Regions from separate parts of the Homo sapiens genome. Here all the other regions are linked to region 1. The links are contacts of gene promoters, found by promoter capture Hi-C in blood cells and fetal thymus (Javierre and others, 2016). All regions are on one chromosome and are shown on one strand. The core of a region is centred on a gene start or on the middle of the fragment in contact, and the rest is flanking DNA. Distances in the headings are between cores, read along the strand shown. Region 1 holds the start of TC2N (tandem C2 domains, nuclear). Region 2 overlaps CCDC88C-DT (CCDC88C divergent transcript). Region 3 overlaps PPP4R3A (protein phosphatase 4 regulatory subunit 3A). Region 4 overlaps LOC101928957 (a long non-coding RNA gene). Region 5 overlaps LOC101928957 (a long non-coding RNA gene). Region 6 overlaps CATSPERB (catsper channel auxiliary subunit beta).

What was found. The method cuts DNA at HindIII sites, captures the fragments that hold promoters and counts their contacts. A CHiCAGO score of 5 or more calls a contact.
Region 2: a fragment that was not itself captured here is called in contact with the fragment with the promoter of TC2N in region 1 in 1 of 17 cell types (non-activated CD4 T cells); the score reaches 5.2 in non-activated CD4 T cells.
Region 3: a fragment that was not itself captured here is called in contact with the fragment with the promoter of TC2N in region 1 in 1 of 17 cell types (naive CD4 T cells); the score reaches 5.7 in naive CD4 T cells.
Region 4: a fragment that was not itself captured here is called in contact with the fragment with the promoter of TC2N in region 1 in 3 of 17 cell types (M1 macrophages, megakaryocytes and M2 macrophages); the score reaches 8.3 in M1 macrophages.
Region 5: a fragment that was not itself captured here is called in contact with the fragment with the promoter of TC2N in region 1 in 2 of 17 cell types (M1 macrophages and M2 macrophages); the score reaches 7.3 in M1 macrophages.
Region 6: a contact is called between a fragment that was not itself captured here and the fragment with the promoter of TC2N in region 1, in 1 of 17 cell types (M1 macrophages). The highest score is 5.3, in M1 macrophages.

Annotation. Positions count from the first base shown.
Region 1 is chr14:91,865,728-91,869,019 of GRCh38, forward strand. TC2N (tandem C2 domains, nuclear) reads right to left here and starts at 1,809. Exons shown (of 12, transcript NM_001128596.3): 1 at 1,535-1,809. RefSeq lists an enhancer at 1,975-2,024. The HindIII fragment of the contact is 17,848 bases long and covers 1,741-3,292 here.
Region 2 is chr14:91,419,519-91,422,810 of GRCh38, forward strand. CCDC88C-DT (CCDC88C divergent transcript) reads left to right here. Exons shown (of 3, transcript NR_184261.1): 2 at 1,431-1,605. It also overlaps the pseudogene LOC112268126. Among named protein-coding and RNA genes, the nearest start is that of CCDC88C-DT, 2.9 kb to the left of the region's middle. The HindIII fragment of the contact is 164 bases long and covers 1,475-1,638 here.
Region 3 is chr14:91,459,703-91,462,994 of GRCh38, forward strand. It overlaps PPP4R3A (protein phosphatase 4 regulatory subunit 3A), which reads right to left. Exons shown (of 15, transcript NM_001366432.2): 12 at 3,033-3,175; 13 at 2,347-2,537; 14 at 1,679-1,905. Among named protein-coding and RNA genes, the nearest start is that of CCDC88C-DT, 43 kb to the left of the region's middle. The HindIII fragment of the contact is 201 bases long and covers 1,632-1,832 here.
Region 4 is chr14:91,532,071-91,535,362 of GRCh38, forward strand. The region is part of intron 2 of LOC101928957 (a long non-coding RNA gene); the gene reads right to left. Among named protein-coding and RNA genes, the nearest start is that of PPP4R3A, 23 kb to the left of the region's middle. The HindIII fragment of the contact is 2,688 bases long and covers 243-2,930 here.
Region 5 is chr14:91,549,784-91,553,075 of GRCh38, forward strand. The region is part of intron 2 of LOC101928957 (a long non-coding RNA gene); the gene reads right to left. Among named protein-coding and RNA genes, the nearest start is that of PPP4R3A, 41 kb to the left of the region's middle. The HindIII fragment of the contact is 2,976 bases long and covers 202-3,177 here.
Region 6 is chr14:91,579,989-91,583,280 of GRCh38, forward strand. It overlaps CATSPERB (catsper channel auxiliary subunit beta), which reads right to left. Exons shown (of 27, transcript NM_024764.4): 27 at 710-1,119. The coding sequence ends at 901. Among named protein-coding and RNA genes, the nearest start is that of PPP4R3A, 71 kb to the left of the region's middle. The HindIII fragment of the contact is 1,052 bases long and covers 1,252-2,303 here.

The DNA of each region.
Region 1 (3,292 bases), core at 559-3,058:
TTTCATAAGAATTTTTCTTGTATAAAACAGATGTCTTAATAATTTTTAAAATCTAACTAAAATAATTTTGTGGACCCTGCTACTGCACCTACCACATTATATTCCAGTTTTGTCGTGTATGCTGCATAAACCCCTGGCTAAAGGTGTTATTAAAAAGTTATTAAAGTTTTAGATTAACTTTTTATAAAGTTTTAATAACTTTTAAAGTTATTAAAAAGTTATTAAAGGTGTTATTAAAAAGGTGTTATTATAAAGTTATCGGTGGACTGTCTATCCTGTTCATGTCTCTGAATCCAGCAACCGGCTTAACCAAAGTGGATTCTTAACCAAAGTATGTGATCCTCTCAAGACAAAGACCTTTTACAAACAATATTTCATCTGGCAAGAGGGGAGTAGAGGAGAGTTCCTTTGTCAAGTCTTCTCTCTGTGGGTGACCCCGTTGGCTCAGAATGAACAACTTGGGCACATTACAGTAACCACCCAGGCCACAAAAATGCGTTGAAACCACTGAAAATGAAATAATCAGACCTACTTAAATGTTTTTACCATCTGGGCAAATAACACCCCAAGGGCCAAGACTTACCTAAGAAAGTGTCTGAAGTATGTTACCCAAGCCTGAGAGGCAACAGGTAGGTGGATTTTGTGCCAATTAGAAAGTGTTATGATTGGCAAACCACTGCAAAACTCTGAAATTGCAGTGAAATGGAAATGCTGGCTGTCATCCCCAAAGTACATTTCAAGGAATCACAAAACTTCAGAATTAGAAGCAATTATTTAGGATGAACGTTTTCACCCACATGAAAGTTGGAAGATGAGGTGGTAACACGAGAGCTTTTGCAGGCGTCCCTACTCTTAATCCTGCGCCCCTTCCACCTTGGTACCCTTCATTCTTCAGGACCTGATGGAGTGGTACAAAGCAGAGGTCACTTGACAAGCTCAGCCCAGCTCCTGGATGGGGCAAAGCTGACAAGGAATAGGCACAGGGAGCCTGGAGATCTCAGGGTCCAGGAAACAGCCTGCCCCATTAGAACTGCACAGCAGAGCACAGCACTGGGATCAGAGAGCAGGCTCATCCCCAGTCTTGTACAAAAAATAACATTTGATGATTCCCAAGGGGTAGGTAAAGCAAGTAGCATTTGGGGTTCCAGCAGCCTCTAGAACTGTTTCCCAAATGTTTGGAGCTTGACTTTGCAGTATACACTTTGCCCTGGACTGTTTTTCTCTTAATTTTTAGGCCCAAGTGTATTTTAAGGTAAATGGATCCCACATGCCTCTGGTGCATTTACACTGAACCCATCAGACCACATTTTGAAAGCGCAATTTGAGGTCCAAGAAGCCCTTGGAGGCTGCTTTTATGAGCCTGAGTTTCTTTTCTTAGAAGCAGGAAGCCACATTTTGACATGAACAAATAAAACACAAACCTTAAAGACTCGGATCTGGTTCCAAATGTGGCACCTCTGAAACCAGTGGGTCCTCAAATCATCAAGACAGAAAGCTTCCCAGTTTTCTTTTTGAGAAGTTCATGGAGACTTACCCCTGTGTTCTGTTGAGCCCAGAGGCAGTGGTTCGGAGGCGCTCGGTGCAAAGCTCACGTAAACCTTCAGCATTTCTGATTCCATCCTTCTTCCCAGCCCCTGAGTCTCCCTACACAGCAGGGACCCAGGCTCACTGCTGCCTTCTGGCCTTTGCTTTTCGGAGCCGAGCTGAGTGAGTCCCAAGGGAATCACCCTCTGTTTTATAAGCTTTGAAACCAGAGCATCCTGAGCCATTTGGTGCTGATGTGATTGCTAACACCACTTGACCCTGACTGAAGAACCACAACTAGGCATGGTTTAGATGTGCTTAGTTAGAGAAAAAAATAACCACAGCCAACAGCAAAGTGAGGTGTGTGGTGTGGGTGTGAGAAATGCTCTTGGGGTGAGGAGGGAGGACTTGCAGCTTCTTGGATGCTACAGGGCGTGGAACATGCTGTTTCCTTCCACTGAAGGCCTAAGATACTACTAAGTGGAACAGGAGAATTCCCTGGCCCCCTCACAGGATGTGCAACAGGGGTGTGGCTCTCTCTTCAGCCACCCCAAGCTAAAACCCCTTATGGGAAGGGGAGCACGCAGACAGGCAGGTGCAGGAACCAGGGTGAGCACTTTTGGGCCCCAGCCCCATGACAGCATCCCGGGGTCGGTGTCTGTGACTTCCAAAGCCCGAGTAGGCACTGAAACAGTGCAGTCTTTCAGCCTTGCCATCCGTGGACAGCTTAAGCGTTAACCAGCTTAGTGGACCCTCTCCCTTTTTGCCAGGGCAGAGGGCCAGTGTGACAGTTTCCTGTATCCCGAGCTCTTGTCCAGCATCCCGGAGGGATCAGGTCACACATGGATTTGCAGGATGAATGCAGGGGTTTTATTGAGTGGTGGAGGTGGCTCTAAGTAGGATGGATGGGGAGCTGGACAGGGGATGGAGTGGGAAGATGATCTTCCCCTGGAGTTTGGCCATCCAGTGGCCAGTTTTCAGATCGTCTCCAGTCGAATTCCTCCCAATGTTCCTTCTCTTCTCTCCTTCTTTGCCGTGCTTTTCTGCCATTCATGTCTGCTCATCTTCTTGTCTCCCCGTCTGCTTCTGGAGCCTGGAGCCTGGGGTTCAGGGTTTATATGGGTACAGGATAGGGGACATGGCAGGCCAAAAGGCAACTTTTTAGGGATGAAAACAGGAATGGCTGTCCTCATTTAGGGCCATGGGTACCCAGGCTTGAGGGTGGGGCCTTTGCCAGGGAACCACCCTCTTCTACCCAGTATTTCCCTGTCTCCTGTCCATATCACAAGGATCTGTGGAATGCCTACTAAGACTAGGGGTCCAGGACACAACTCCTGATAGGCACTGTGGGGGTCCTTAATGAATACCTCACCAACAGGTAGGATGGGAGCACCCTCAGATGGATCTGTAGACTCCACCTCAGCTATCAGGGAGTGCACTTTTTTCCTGAAGCCTTGGGTTGATTCCTGGGATGGCACATAAAGACAGCCATCCCAACCTGTTCTCCTGTGACTTGCAATGTTGACTCTCTTGGCCCCTGCACAGGGTTCTAAGACTTGAAGGATGTCCAGAGGCCCTGACCAGGAAAAGAATAATGTATCCTACAATGAGCAGAAAAGACATTGAGGGCAAGGCAGCTAGGGCTCCAGCCCCATCTGTCCACCTCTCTTTCTAGGGTTTATAACAATACATTCTCAACTCTGGCTACATAGTCAAGTTTTCAAAAATCCTGATGGCCGGGCCCTACCTAAGCCCAATGACATCAGAG
Region 2 (3,292 bases), core at 307-2,806, 450 kb before region 1:
GGTCTTCTGACAAGTTCAAGATTTTACCAAATGTTGCAAGAACTCTGGAATCCTTATGGTAGTAAAATGCTGGAAAGAAAATTCTGCATTGAAAGAATGTCTTAACAGCTCACTATAATGACCCAGCCTTTTATGAATAATGCAAAGTGGAAAACCTGAAGGAAAAGGAAGAATTCAGAAAAACTGGAATTTCTACAAAGAAAAGTCTACAGAAGCTGCCCACAAGTGTGTAGACAAATATTCAGATGACATTCAGGATCTCTAATACTCATGGAAGTCGTTTATAGAATAAACCTTAAATAATGGACTCAAGAATGTGTGTTTGCTAATTATGTGTGTATCCTAATTATGGAAATATTAATTTTATCTGAAATAAAAATCTTTTTTTCTTTTCTCTTTTTTTTTTTTTTTTTTTTTTTTGAGACAACAGAGTCTCACTCTGTTGCCCAGGCTGGAGTGCAGTGGCGTGCTCTCTGCTCACTGCAACTCCGCCTCCCGGGTTCGCGCCATTCTCCTGCCTCAGCCTCCAGAGTAGTTGGGACTGCAGGCGCCCACCACCACGCCCGGCTAATTTTTTGTATTTTTTACTAGAGACGGGGTTTCACCGTGTTAGCCAGGATGGTCTCTATCTCCTGACCTCGTGATCCGCCTGCCTCGGCCTCCCAAAGTGCTGGGATTACAGGCGTGAGCCACCGCGCCCGGCTAAAAATCTTTTATTTAAAAAAGTTCCTTAATTGCTCATAATGTAAGTTAGTTCAAAAATAGGTATGATGTGTACACACACCGCTCTTCGCTCGGAAGCCTCTCTTCTGAAAAGTAAGGGATGCAGATGCGGCCAAAGTTGTTTTTCCAATTTTTTTGGAAAGACAAGGATGAGGAATCTTTAAAGTTATTTATTGAGGCCGGGTGCAGTGCCTCACACCTGTAATCCCAGCACTTTGGGAGGCCTAAGTAGGTGGATCACTTCAGCCCAAGAGTTCAAGACCAGCCTGGCCAAAAAAAATAGAAAAATTAGCTGGGTGTGGTGGTGCACACCTGTGATCCCAGCTACTCTGGAGGCTGAGAATCACTCGAACCCGGGAGGGGAAGGTTGCAGTGAGCTGCTATTGCACCATTGCACTCCAGCCTGGGTGACAGAGCAAGACTCTGTCTCAAAAAAAAAAATTTATTGAGTAAGCTTATTCTTTCACACTAAGAAATACAGTGGACAAATGCCTTCTGACAGTTGTGAGACTTTTCCCATCCTGGTGAGGGAATTTTCCCCTGGGGACATTGACAAGGCCCTGGGCCACAGCCATGTCAGGAATGTTTGCTTTGGGGTCAGTTAGCTGCTGTGTTGGTTCATAATCATTGATGTATCTGCTACCATGCCTTGGCTTGACTACGCCACCAGGATTAAAAGGATCTAACTCAGCTCCCTTGTTCCCTAGGAGGCAATGGGGCAGGCAAACTGGATGGTGCCCCAGGTGTAGCAAGCTTGGAAGGCTTCAAAGGACGGGACAAGTTTGGCCTGGACAAGTTTCCTCCTAGAAGTCACTTAATCTGCAAAATCAAGATAAGACCATTTTCCCCATGTGACTTGACAAGACAATATTAAAGCTCAAGGTGATGCATGTAAAAAGATTGTGGAAGCCATAAAGCTTTATAGAGATACATAATCACTGTCTCTTCCTCATCTCCTGCCCCATTCTGCTACCCTTGCTTTAATAAAAATTGTTTCCCCGAAGTCTCCGTCGGGCTGGGGCATAAGCTTCAAGGAGCAAATGCACAGACCCTCCACTGACCACTACACAGAGAGTCCCAATGCCCCTCCTCCATCCTTCCAGAACACCCTTGGCTTTCACTCCATCCATCTGAGCCTTAACTCTTTATTTTTAAGTTTTTCCTTGTTAATCTCTGGATATAAATGTATCTATTGCTTAATACATTGCTTCCTGGGTAGAAGCAGTATTTTGTGTTCTTCTGATAAAGGAATTTTCTACCCTCTCAGAAAATACTGACTCAGCAGTGTTAGCTAATGGCATTTCTACTTCACCTGATAGGAGCAGGAGCTTAAATTGTTACTACAACTTGGGGTGGGGAGAGGGAATGGCTATTTTTTTTTTTTTTCGAGACTGAGTCTTGCTCTGTCACCCAGGCTGGAGTGCAGTGGCGCAATCTTGGCTCACTGCAACCTCTGTCTCCCAGGGGTCAAGCTATCTCAGCTCACTACCATGCCGAGCTAATTTTTGTATTTTTAGTAGAGACAAGGTTTCGCCATGTTGGCCAGGCGGTTCTCAAACTCCTGACCTCAGGTGATCTGCCCGCCTCGGCCTCACAAAGTGCTGAGATTACAGGTGTGAGCCACTATGGCTGGCCACAAAATACTATATTCTATGATAGTTTTATATTCTGTCACAGATCTGACATTTTGGAACGTTCTTTTATTTACTTTATTTATTTATTTATTTATTTATTTTTGAGACAGAGTCTCGCTCTGTTGCCCAGGCTAGAAGTGTAATGGCTGAGCAATCATAGCTCACTGCAGCCTCAGTCTCCTGGGCTCACGTGATCCTCCTGCCTCAGGCTTCTTAGTAGCTGGGACTACAGGTGAGCCCCACCATGCCCGGATAATTTTTTTTTTAAATTTTTTAAATCTTAGTAGAGACAAGGTTGCTATGTTGCCCAGGCTGGTCTCAAACTCCTGAGCTGAAGTGATCCTCCTGCCTCGGCCTCCCAAAATGCTGGGATTACAGGCATGAGCCGCCATGCTGGGCTGGAACATTCTTAAAATATTGGAAATTAGGCTGGGCGAGGTGGCTCACGCCTATAATCCCAGCACTTTGAGAGGTCAAGGTGGGCAGACCACAAGTCAGGAGTTCGAGACCAGCCTGACCAACATGATGAAACCTCATTTCTACTAAAAATACAAAAATTAGCCAGGCGTGGTGGCGTGCACCTGTAATCCCATCTACTCAGGAGGCTGAGGCAGGAGAATCGCTTGAACCCTGGGGGCGGAGGTTGTAGTGAGCTGAGATTGCGCCACTGCACTCCAGCCTGGGTGACAGAGCAAGACTCCATCTAAAAAAAAAAAAGAAAAAAAAATTGGGAATTAATATTATTGTCAAATTCAGGAAAAACATAAAGGATTTGGGGTCCTTTGGGATGCAAGGCATAGGAGAGTATCTGTGTTTCAACCTGCTGCTTGTTAATGTGAGACTGATATTTTGGGGAAAATTTCAACCTATTTCAAAGATTTTTTTTTTCAGAGAATAGGAAACAATACACTAAAACATGGAAATGCTGCTGAGCG
Region 3 (3,292 bases), core at 482-2,981, 410 kb before region 1:
TGCACATCTGTAATCCCAGCTACTTGGGAGGCTGAGGCACAAGAATCGCTTTAATCTGGAAGGTGGAGATTGCAGTGAGCTAAGATCACGCCACTGCACTCCAGCCTGGGTGACAGACTGAGACTCTGTCAAAAAAAAAAAAAAGTACCAAAATGAAAACTGCAGCAGATAAAGAGACCACCAGAAATGAGGGTAGACAGGCTTTTTCTATTTATTAGAGGTTAGGAAAGCAGTTCTACCCTGACTCTTCCTCATCATTTCATCTGGGTTTCCTTTTAGCCCTGCTCCTTCACCAGAAACCACTGCCGCTTGCTTTATTTATTTTTTGAGATGGAGTCTCACTCTGTCGCCCAGGCTGGAGTGCAGTGGCGCCATCTCAGCTCCCTGCAAGCTCCACCTCCCGGGATCACACCATTCGCCTGCCTCAGCCTCCTGAGTAGTTGAGACTACAGGCGCCCGCCACCACACGCGGCTAATGTTTTTGTATTTTTAGTAGAGACGGGGTTTCACCGTATTAGCCAGGATGGTCTCGGATCTCCTGACCTCGTGACCCACCCCCCTGGACCTCCCAAAGCACTGGGATTACGGGCGTAAGCCACCGCGCCTGGCTGCTGCTTGCTTTATTTCGATGCTAAGGGAAAAATTCACACTGCTCTGCTCTCAAGCCTGCCTCTTCATTTCAGCGTGTCTCAGATTCACTTCTTAGCCGTCAGGAGTCTCCAGCTCACGCCAGAAAAAAAAAAGACTGAATGGGCATTACGTGTCTGATTTAGATCAGTGATTCCCAAATGCCAGTCTTTTAACTGCTAGTCTGCTAGCCCAATAATCAATATATTATGTCTCAAAAGAAAAGGGTGGTTGGCATAAGGAGCCCCCAAAACTGGTTTTATTCTGAGATTGCATGTTTTCTACATTTTTTCTTAAGATTTTGTTCCTTTTTTTTTTTTTTTTTTTGAGATGGAGTCTCGCTGTTGCAGTAGCGATCTCAGCTCACTGCAAGCTCCGCCTCCCAGGTTCATGCCATTCTCCTGCCTCAGCCTCCAGAGTAGCTGGGACTACAGGCGCCCGCCACCACGCCTGGCTAATTTTTGTATTTTTAGTAGAAACGGGGTTTCACCACGTTAGCCAGGACGGTCTCGATCTCCTGACCTCGTGTCCTGCCCGCCTCAGCCTCCCAAAGTGCTGGGATTACAGGCGTGAGCCACCGTGCCCAGCCCTTGTTCATTTCTTATATGAAATGTTAGTGATAGTAGATGTTTAATTTTCTTAACAAACCTTAACTGGCAAAGTAAAGTTAGAAGTACCCAGATATTTAGATTATCATTTCCCCACAAAGGCTTTATCTGGGTATTAGTTAGGAACATTTATTCAAGAATAACTGAAAACCTTGAACATTTCTGTAAATGTTTTGACATACAAATTTGAAGTTTCAGTTCTAAAATCCAAAATACCCAAGTGAGAATTCACACTATATGCAGACTTGCATTGGTCATAAAAAAAACTTTCAGAAATTTCTCAACCTTTATATAAGTTCAAGCGGTGGGGGGGACTCATCCTCTAGTTCAGGGATGTTAAATCAGTTCTAGGTGGCAGTAACCAAAGGGAATCTTAGTCAAAATTATTGTTGAGAAAGCTTCAATTGGGAAAAAAGGGGGCAAAATGGGAGTCAAGAATGTACCTTTGTAGTAATAGCTGCCGTCTGAGATGTATTTTTAGGTACGGATCCAGGAGAGCCTGGAGATCCTGGGGATCCAGGTGATCCCGGAGAACCAGGCAGATTTGTTGTAGATGACTGGCTGGTGAGGTTAGTCTTCGTTCCACTGGACAGGGAAAGCTTGAAACTTGGGCTCTGCCGTCCAGAAAGGTTTGTTTTCAGAAGCACTTCCTTTTCCTCACTTTCTTTTACTAAAAATGAGAATACTGTCAATAGTCGTCCCCCATACTTCTTTTTTAAATTTCCCCAAATGAGGTAACACTAAAACACATTTAACTAGCTTACTACGCTGGGTAGAAACATTGAAGTTCAATTTATAAAAGAAGCTTACCAAAATACTAACCACAATTCCATTCATTGGATCTTACCCCAGAGAAGAATTGAAACCTTCAGAATCATATTTAGTATCCCTACCCTTCCTGAAATAGTATATTCCTTATTCAACTCAAATTAAGAAAACTTAAGTTTATGCCTACACAACACTGCTATTCAGTCACATCCCATAAAGCAATAGAGTCTTTAAACCGTATGCCATCACACCTTCCAAGCAAATAATCATTTTGTCAAGAAATAAGAATAAATCTAGAGTAAGAAAGCCTTAATTTTCTCTTGCCCATTTTTTTCCAACATACATTTCTTCCTTTCCATGAATTTACTTATTGGATCCATAATATCATCATCATTTTTAGTTTTGTCAGATGGAGACACTACAGCTTCTCCATCTTCCATGTCATCTTCATCTGTGTTAAACCACATCTCTTCTTCATCTTCTAGTGTTCTGGCATCTCTTCGATATCTGTGATTCCTCAAAATGGAACGCATACTATGAGTAGGGAAGAAAGAGTAAATACAATCATATATGGACTTAATTGTACTGTTACAGATGACTTATTAAACTTGTTAACATAGGGAATTAACATGAAATTTACAAATATTAAAGTATCAATGTAAATCCAGGTATTTAGATTAATGTACAAAATTTTAAATAATAATTTGTAACCTTAGTAACTTGTAAATTCAAAGCAAGTAATATAATCCTCTGATTTTATTTGGAACACATGAAGCCTCACTTCCACTGTTTGGTCTTTTTTTTTTTTTTTCCCTTATCTAGCCTGATACATGCCTGAGGTATTATACTAATAACCAGCCTAATCTTCAGGGAAACATTTATGTTGACCCTTACAGGAAGCTACAATTTCTATTTGCTATCTGCTGATTTCCCTGTTCCTTGTCAAGCCAAATAATATCAAATAAACAATAAAGCCACTACCATACGACTTGATGCTGAACGAATAGGTTTAAATATATGGTAATTTACCTGTCAAGTTTGGGATTATCTTGCCTTTCTCTTTGTTGTTCAAATCTCAGTTTTAATCCTTTAAATGTCTGTACATAATCTACATCTTCCAGTGCTTTCCAGTAATTTTCAATTACATGAGCAGTTAATGATTTTATATCTTCCTACAGAAAAGAATAGTAATGAAAAAATGATAGGAAAATGTCATTTTAGCAAGATGAGGCTTAATTTAATCAATTCATACCCACCAAAAATAGCTTAATTTAATAAAACTACATAAT
Region 4 (3,292 bases), core at 337-2,836, 330 kb before region 1:
AAAGAAAACTGCTACAAACCTATCAATGTTCTCTGAGACAGAAGATGTGGCACCCATGAAACCAAATGGAGGGTTTTATAAAGAAAGGAACATTCAGAGAACAAAAGAGAGGTCTTGGAAATTAGAAGTATAGTAACAAAAATGAAAAATTCAACAGATGGTACGAAACAGAAGCTGAGGATAGCTCCTGAAAGTAGAGCAAGAGGATGTATATAGGAGGAAAGTGATAAGAAAATCAGAGAAGCTTACAGGTAGAACAAAGCCAGAATATTAGGAGTTACAGGGAGAACAGAGACAATGGAAGGAAGACAATTATTAATCACATGATTCAAAAAGATTTCTCAGAATTGAGGGATGTGAACTTGTACACAGAAAGGTCCACCACAGTGTCCAGAGCCCATGACATGGATATAGAACAAAAACAAAGCCCACCAGGCCAGATGTGGTGGCTCATGCTTGTAATCCCAGCACTTTGGGAGGCCGAGGCGGGTGGATCACTTGAGGTCAGGAGTTTGAGACCAGCCTGGCCAACATGGTGAAACCTCGTCTCTACCAAAAACAGAAAAAAATTAGCGGGCACAGTGGCATATGCCTGTAGTCCCAGCTCCTCTGGAGGCTGAGGCAGGAGAATCACTTGAACTCAGGAGGCAGAGGTTGCACTGAGCCAAGATCGCGCCACTGCACTCCAGCCTGCATGACTGACTGGAGTGAGACTCCATCTCCAAAAAAAAAAAACAAACAATGAAACAAAACACGAAGCCCACCAGTATGAAATGTCATAACACTAGGGACAATGGAAAGATATTTAAATCTTTCCTTACAGAAGAATCAGACAAAATAATGGCACTGGGCTTCTCAATGGTAATACTGCAAGCTAAGGGACAAAGGAGCAATGCTTTTGAAATTTTGAGGAGAAGTGGTTTCAAGTAGAGAATTATATACGCAGCCAAACTATGAATCCAGTGGTAAGTAAATAAAGACATTTGCATACACGAACAATCTCAAAACACCGGCCACCCATCTATTTTTTCTTTGAAAGTTACTGGAGGACGTGTTCCACTAAAATAAGGTATTATATTAATAAAGTAGAATATATGAGAGCCGGGAAACAGAAGATCCATTAGAGGGAGACAAAATAGTGAACAGTGCATAGAGAACTAAGTGAAAACAAGGACATGTATTAACACCAAGAACAAGAAAATGTTATCAGGGAAGAAAAAGAAATGTGGCTGTACCGTGAATTTGGCTAACATTTCCATAATAACACCAACAGTGAATCTGACTCAACTATTCTATTTTTTGAGATGGAATCTCACTCTGTCACCCAGGCTGGAGTGCAGTGGCGTGATCTCGACTCACTGCAACCTCCACCTCCCGGGTTCAAACAATTCTCTTGCCTCAGTCTCCTGAGTAGCTGGTATTACAGGCAAGTGCCACCACGCCCGGCTAATTGTTTTTGCGTTTTTAGTAGAGACAGGGTTTCACTATGTTGCCCAGGCTGATCTCGAACTCCTGGGCTCAAGTGATCTGCCCGCCTCAGCCTCCCAAAGTGCTGGGATTACAGGGATAAGCCACCACGCCTGGCTTAAGCTATTTTATTTTACTTTATTTTAATTTTTAGAGACCAAGTCTTGCTCTGTCACCCAGGCTGGAGTACAGTGGCATGATCATAGCTCACTATAGTCTTGAACTCTTGGCTCAAACTATTGCATGAGATCCTCCCACCTCAAGCCTCCCACTGACTAAACTCTTCATAAAACTTTCATGTGGGAGGATGAGAAGAGTGAGTGTTTATGTATGGCGGTGATAGTAGGGCTTAGAAAAGACCTAAATCCTCGTCTTTCATAGTGGAATGTTAATAGATTATACTTTTTTTTTTTAAACTTTAAGTTCAGGGGACATGTGCAGATTTGTTACACAGGTAAAGCTGGGGGTTTATTGTACAGATTGTTTCATCACCCAGGTATTAAGCCTGGCACCCATTAGTTATCTTTCCTGATCCCCTCCCTCTTCCCATCCTCCATCCTCTGACAGGCCGTTTTTCCCCTCTAGGCGTTCACGTGTTCTCATCCTTTGGCTCCCACTTATAAGTGAGATCATGAGGTATTTGGTTTTCTGTTCCTGCTTTAGTTTGCTAAGGATAATGGCCTCCAGCTCCATCCATGTCGCTGCAAAAGACATGATCTCATTCATTTTTATGGCTGCATAGTATTCCATAGTGTATATGTACCACATTTTCTTTATCCAGTGTACCATTGATGGATATTTAGGTCGATTCCATGTCTTTGCTATTGTGAATAGTGCTGCAATGAACATACACATACCTGTGTCTTTATGATAGAACAATTTACTTATAACTTAAAAAAAAATGGCAGTATAAGTCCAGGCACCATGGCTCATGCCTGTAATCCCAGCACTTTGTGAAGCTGCGGTGGGTAGATCAATTGAGCCCAGGAGTTTGAGACCAGCCTAGGTAATGTGGCAAGACCCGGCTCTAAAAAAAAAAAAAAAAAAAAAAAATTAGCCAGGCATGGTGGCATGTGCCTGTAGTCCTAGCTACTTGGGAAGCCCAGGAGATTGAGGCTGCAGTGAGCCAAGATCGCACCACTTCACTCCAGCCTGGGCAAGAGAGTGAGACCCTGTCTCAAAAAAAAAAAAAAAAAAAAAAAAAAATAGCAGTGTAAGCAGGTTATTTAGAGATTCCGAGGCAAATGTCCAAATAAACAGTTAAAACAATTTTATGTGGTTGCCTCTGAAGAAAGGGAAATGGAAGAGGGATATGTACAGGGAACTGTTAGATTTTATAATAATTTAGGATTATTTGACTTTCTGAAGTATGTGCAGGGATACATTTAATGAAAACGATAGCAAAATGAGAAACTTAAAAACAGAAAGCTAGGACTAGTTCAGGTTGATGAATGATTTTTAAAAGCTTATAGACATCTGGAATTACCCATAAAGTTATTTACTAAATGTTTATTTGGTTGCTTGGTTATTCAATGGGCATTAGTGTAAGAAATCTTGCTTTCAAGTTTATTGACAGCATAAGTAAGTACTCAATCTTCACTTTTTAATATTTACTTAACAGTATTCAAAGCATATGGTGCAAGTTGCTCAACTTATGGATTCCAGCAGCTATTGTGCAACATATAACTACATCAATGGCAATGATATCTATTTGTTTAAAAACCCGTTGGGTAAGTACAAAAATTAGCTGGGCATAGTGGCATTCACCTGTAGTCCCAGCTACTCGGGAAGCCAAGGTGGGAGGATCACTTGAGCCCGGAAGGTT
Region 5 (3,292 bases), core at 440-2,939, 320 kb before region 1:
TGGTAAACTATGAAATGTCAGCGTTCAGCCAGATGGTATGATGGAGCAGCAGAAGTCAGAATTCAGTGAGGGGACACTGAAGGAACAGATAATGCTCCTGCTTTGCCTTGAAGTGTCATCAATTTGTAATTTCAGGGTTAACTGCAGAAGTGTCTGTAAGTACATTTTATATTAAGGACAGACCAAAAACCAACACATCAAAGCTTCAAAAACTTTGGGAAAGGGTGAGATTAAGAACAAGCACATTTGGCTTATAGTAAATGAACTGATTTTTATTAACTGCTTTTGTCCATATAAAATGCTGATATTTACTGGAAACCTAGCCACCTTCATAATTATGATAAAAGTGCCAGGTTATAATCCAGAAGATAATATGCAGGCAATAGCAGATATCTCTGACAAAGTATGTCTCAAAACTGATTATATATATATATATACACACACACACACGTATATATTTTTATTTATTTTTTGAGACAGGGTCTTGCTGTGTTGCCCAGGCTGGAGGGCAGTGCCATAATCTCAGCTCACTGCAACCTCCACCTCCTGAGTTTAAGTGATTCTCGTGCCTCAGCCTCCTGAGTAGCTGGGATTACAGGCATGCGCCACCACGCCCAGCTAACTTGTGTTTTTAGTAGAGATGGGGCTTCACCATGTTGTCCAGGCTGGTCTGGAACTCCCGACCTCAAGTGATCCACCTACCTCGGCCTCCCAAAGTGCTGAGATTACAGGCATGCGCCACCGTGCCTGGGTGCATTTATTTTTTAAACATTAGAGGCAGGGTCTTGCTATGTTGCCCAGGCTGATTTTGAACTCCTGGGCTCAAGCGATCCTCCTTTCTCAGCCTTCCAGGTAGCTGGGACTACAGTACAAATTTAATTAATTAATTAATTATTTGTATAGAGTCGAGGTCTCTCTATGTTGCCCAGGCTGGTCTTGAACTCCTGGGCTCAAGGGACCCTCCTACCTTGGTCTCCAAAAGTGCTGGGATTGCAAGTGTGAGCCACTGTGCCCGGCCTACAGTACAAATTTTAAATGGTTGTATCTTCCTGGTTAATTGACCTTTTATTATTATAAAGTGACTATCATTATCTCTGGTATTGGTTTTTGCCCTAAAGTCAATTTGATCTGATATCATTATGGTCAAACCAACTATCCTATTGCTAATATTTGCTTAGTACTGTATATCTACTTAGAACTCTACAGGACATTCTTTTTCTTGTTTAATACATTTGGAGTTACCCACTTATTGTTACCTATTTTACCTTTATTTTTTTTCTCCCAACTCGGACCCTTCATATGGGATCATTTTCCTTTTGCCAGAAATGCTTCTTTTATAATTTCCTATAGTGGATTTTGATCCTGGCAAACTCTCTTAGCTTTTATTTGTCTAAAAATATTTCCATTTTTCTCTCATTCTTAATAGACATTTTTTTAATTGACATAGAATTCAATATATTTGTTTTTCTTTAGCTTCACTATTTCACTTTTTATTTATATTTCTTAGGTTTTCTTCTTTTTCTTTTCTTTCTTTCTTTTTTTTTTGTTTGTTTAGAGACAAGGTCTCACTCTGTTGCTTAGGCTGGAGTGCAGTGGCTCAATCATAGCTCATCGCAGTCTTGAATTTCTGGGCTCAGGCAATTCTCCTGCCTTAGTCTCCTGGGTAGCTAGGACGGCAGGTGTGTGTCATCATGCCTGGCTAATATTTAAAAATATTTTATGTAGAGATGGGGTCTCACTATGTTGCCCAGGCTGGTCTTGAACTTTTGTCCTCAACAGATCATCTTGCCTCAGCCTCCCAAAGTGTGATTACAGGCATGAGCCATCACACCCAGCCTACATAACTAATACACATTATTTACTTGAATCTTATTTCTTCCTAGTAGGGTTCAGCTTCACTCACCTTGGTTACATGGATGTCATCACCTGAATGCTTTGTATCAACAATTGTTTTAAACATGAAAAGCAGTTGTAGTAAAATTAAAACCTTGCATTTCATTCCCAGATGTTCTATTAACTTAAGTTGTAGGGATAGCGGGGGTGCACCAAGATTCTAATGGGTTTAATATAATCAAAACACTTGTTCACTGTATGTTTATTGAGTTTCTCATTTAAATCAATCAATGGATTAATGCTTACATAATATTGCCATAAAATTTAGACTGCTAAATGACATGTTGATATTGATCCATTGATTGATTTAAATGAGAAACTCAATAAACGTACAGTGAACAAGTATTTTCCGTTGTCATCCTGTCCAGGCACAGTGGCTCACCCCTGTAATCTCAGCACTTTGGGAGGCCACAGCAGGAGGATCTCTTGAGCTCAAGAGTTCAAGACCAGCCTGGGCAACATAGGGAGACTTTGTCTCTACAAAAAAATTTTTAAAAAGTTGTCATCCTTTTAGTAGCCTGTCTATGAATGATAAGAATTTATATTCAGTAACTGTTTCAATATGTGACACAGCAGGAAGGCTGCCATCTGCAAGCCAGGAAGAGAGAACTCACCAGAAACCAAATCAGCTGGCATCTTGATTTGGACTTCCCTGCCTCCAGAACTGTTAGCAATAAATGTTGATTGTTTAAGCTACCCAGTGTATGGTATTTAGTTATGGCAGCCCAAGGAGACCAATATGTGTGAAATTTTTCATATTTAACTGAAGATTTAACTGTTAACTTGAGAATATTTTACTTAAGGAAAAGAAAAAAGAAAAACAAAGAACAAAAAACAAACAACTCCCCAGAGAGACTCTATGGAAATGTTGCAACTTCTAAAAAGGAGTTTAATTCACATATACAGTATATGGGATTCTTTATAAGATTATCATATTTCAATTTATCTGTGGATATGATGGCTCATAGGTTAGTCTGTGTTTAAAGGGTTTTCCATAATAAAACATATTTTCATTTTTATACCAACAAGAATAATTTCACATCCTGTAGGTCTCCAGTTAAAAAATGATTGTTATTTTCTTATACTACAATTTTTATCATTGAGTCTAACAATATGTAGGAAGCACTCTAAGAATAAAAATAAACACAATCATAGATGGTTAGAGTGGAAGCAAACCCCAGAAGTCATGAAACCCAAGCCTCTAACTTTACTGATGAGGAAAATGAAGTTCAGAGAGGCTTAGGGCTTGCTTATGGTTCTCATAGCTGGCAAGAAAAAAGATGAAGCTTAAAAGTGGGGCTCTGGGCCCCTAGTTCAATGTCCTTTCTACCACACTAAGCTGCCTCTTCGACAAGGTTTACAGCTTTTCCTCTTCAAATGACCAAGACAATACTTTAAA
Region 6 (3,292 bases), core at 528-3,027, 290 kb before region 1:
TTCCCATTTTACAGGTGAAGCAACTCATGCACGAATAAATTAACTTCCCAAGGTTACTTATCTAGTAAATGGCAAACCCAGGAGATCTGGCTCTGGAGTCTGATTCTCTTGCCTACCTGCCGCACTGCCCTCTCTAAGGAATTTCAATGATAGATCTCAGACCTGGATTGGATGCCTTCCTTTCCTTATGTTGTCAAAACTGTGCTCCCCTTCTGAGCTTTTCCAGGGAGCATGAGGCTCTGATCTCTGAATGTTATGGTCATCTTCTGACTATCTGGGGACATTTACTTTGAGAGCACACAGAGATATAGCTTTTGGAATTCTCCATGCTGCATGTAGGTTTATAAACCAATACCCTGCTCAGACACCGCGTTCTTCTAACACCCTAATGATGGGGTCACATTTCTCTCTTTAGGTACTACAATCTGGTTTTGAAGTTGCCCAAAGAAACTTGAATGGCTTCCTCTTTCATTCCCACAAGGCTCTGAAAACACTGCTGCTGATCCGCTGTCTTCACTCCTATCTCACCCTGGCATAACTGCACTCTACTCAAACTCTATCTGGAAGGAGCAGAGCTCAGGGGTTCTGACCCCACAGAATGGGCTCCAGGCACTAAGAGCTGAACAACACAGAACACCTGTTCCATGTCGAGTTGGTTATCATTTTATACTTTTCTAAAAACCTCAAGGAAGATCTTCAACATAAGCCCTGGCATAAGACATTTTCTATGTATTCAAAATAAGAAAAGGAAATGGTGAATATATTGACAAGTAGCAATTTGAATTATAATGACAATTCTTTAGGATTTTATGTAGCTTGCATATTTAACATTTAAATATATTGTTCTAGGAATTGGCTGATAAAACTAGAAAATAAAGAGAAATTATGATCACCATGTGTTCACTCTTCAGACTTTGATCTATGAATCAGCTCACTGAGAGAGATACTTGAAAACTTCTCTTGGTTTCTTCTAATCCATCTTTGGAATGTCCTCCACGGATGGATGCCTTGCAGTTGAAACATAAATGCTATAAAAATTAATCCCCCTAGCACTACCGCTGTTGCCACGGCAATAAGCGTGTGTCCTGGGAATGGCAATGGTGCCTCATCAACATAAATCTGCAACAGAAAAAGCAAAGTCTTTAAGCTTTCTGAATTTAGCAATGCAAAACACTGAAAATTTAATGTTCCCCACAATTAATCGGAGAGCAAAACGCTGCCCAGAGTTACAAAGACATTCAGCATCCACAAAGCTTGGAAACAGTCTCTTGACAGTTGAACAAGTAACAATTTGCCTACAATAAATAGGGGCTAAGAAGTCCATGTATTATCCTATGCCTTTACCCTGTCTTTAATGGTGGAAGGAGGCAGATAAAATGCTTATACAGCAGAACATTCTCTGTTCAGTCTCAGAGGAATGGGCAAAGAGCTCTGGGAATGTGGAGGAGGGAATGCCTACCTGCCTAGGGCAGTCAGGGAATGCGCTTTCTGAGCTGGATCATGACGAATAAGTAGGTTCACAGAAGAGAAGGAGATAAAGGAACATTCCAGGTAGAGGCATATGTCTGTGCTCTTTCAAGTTACCACCTCTTTAGAAAATCCTCTTTGTAGGTGCTGCCAGTATAGGTAACTTTTTATGTATTCAAAATGTTTCCTCTGCATGAATAGCTAATTAACAGAAGCAAGTAAATTTCTGGAGGACAGATAGGATTATTGACAGAGAGGGACAGTGATGTCTTTTTCTCTGAGATGTGAGGCAAGGGTGGGGTCATTGTATGTTAAATATAGAAGTGGGGCATAAAGAGAGTAGGGGGTTCAAGCCCAGGCTTATGTTTCCTTTGTGAAGCAGGAAGCCAGATCGTCTTTTGTGGGAGAAGAACGTGCTGATGAATGGAACTAGGACAGTAGGGAATGTGGGAAAGTGCAAAGGACAAGAAAAAGGATGACAGGCTGCTTTAAGGTCTAGCTCAAGTTAAAGGTACCACCATCCTCCCAGTGACCCAAGGAGGTAGCTGATTTCTTAGAAACAGTCCCTCCATGCTATACATTCTCTAAAATTCCCCTCACATTCATTCTTTCCATTCTTTCAGTACTGCTACTGTGATTATTGTGCCACTTTTCATAAATAGGCTACTCTAGTAGCCTCCTTCCCAGCCCACCAGTCCGTGTTGACATCCTAACATTGCCAGATTTATCTTTGTATAAAACACCAGTCTGTGTATAAACACCTTTTTCCAAAAATGTTTAATAGCTTTTCATTGTTGACAGGAATGTTGACAGGAATGTTGACAGGAGTGTTCTAAAGCTTTCACTCTGACATTCAAAGCCTTCCACAATTGGACCCTAACCTACCTGGCTTTCTTCTAAATAACCTTATATTCCAGCCAAATGGATTTGAGCTATTCAAAAAGCAAACTTTATGCTTTTGATTGTGACAGGAGGCAGTCAAATGCCTAGGCAGATAGGGGTGGGTCGCCGGTGAAACCTGACCTTCAAGCTGAAGGCAGTCCCAGGTAAATCCACATACCGAATTCAGAACCTGTCTTCCTGTTTGGCGTGCTTTCCTCTGACTGATCCCACCCTTCAACTGTTTTACATATACCTACCCTTCCTAATTGGTTTTCTACACTGCTGTGCCCACCTTTGAGTGGTACCTTTGCTTTAGCCTTTCTTTGCTTACTCATAAGCCAGTCAGCACACTCTCCCCTATTCTGAGTGCATAAAGGCCCCACTCAGCCACACTGGCAAAGAAACCACCTGACTGCAGGGGTGAGGGACCACACCCTACGTCCCCTGTCTGCTGAGAGCTGTTCCATCACTCAGTAAAATTATTCTTTGCCCTCCTCACTCTTCAATTGTTAGTGTTTCCTCATTATACTTGGATGCAGGACAGGAACATGGGTACACACTACAACATAGTTGGGACAAGTGGGCAGGGTGCCTCCAGTGGCAGGCTCAGGGCTGAGCAAGGCCCAGGTGGAGGATGTCACCAGCTGTGGAGGTCCCCGGTTGGCAAAGTGGCCAAGAAAAGTCCTGCATCACTTTCCCATATCTGTACCTGGTCTCTCCATCCAGAATGCCTTCCTTGTTCATTTCTGCCTAATGAAATTTCAGTCACTCCACCAGATGATGTAAAAATTTCACTTGTGGCTGGGCACGGTGGCTCATGCCTGTAATCCCAGCACTTTGGGAGGCCAAGGCGGGCAGATCACGAGGTCAGGAGATTGAGACCATCCTGGCTAACATGGTGAAACCCCATCTCTACCTAAAATACAAAAAATTTAGCCAGGCA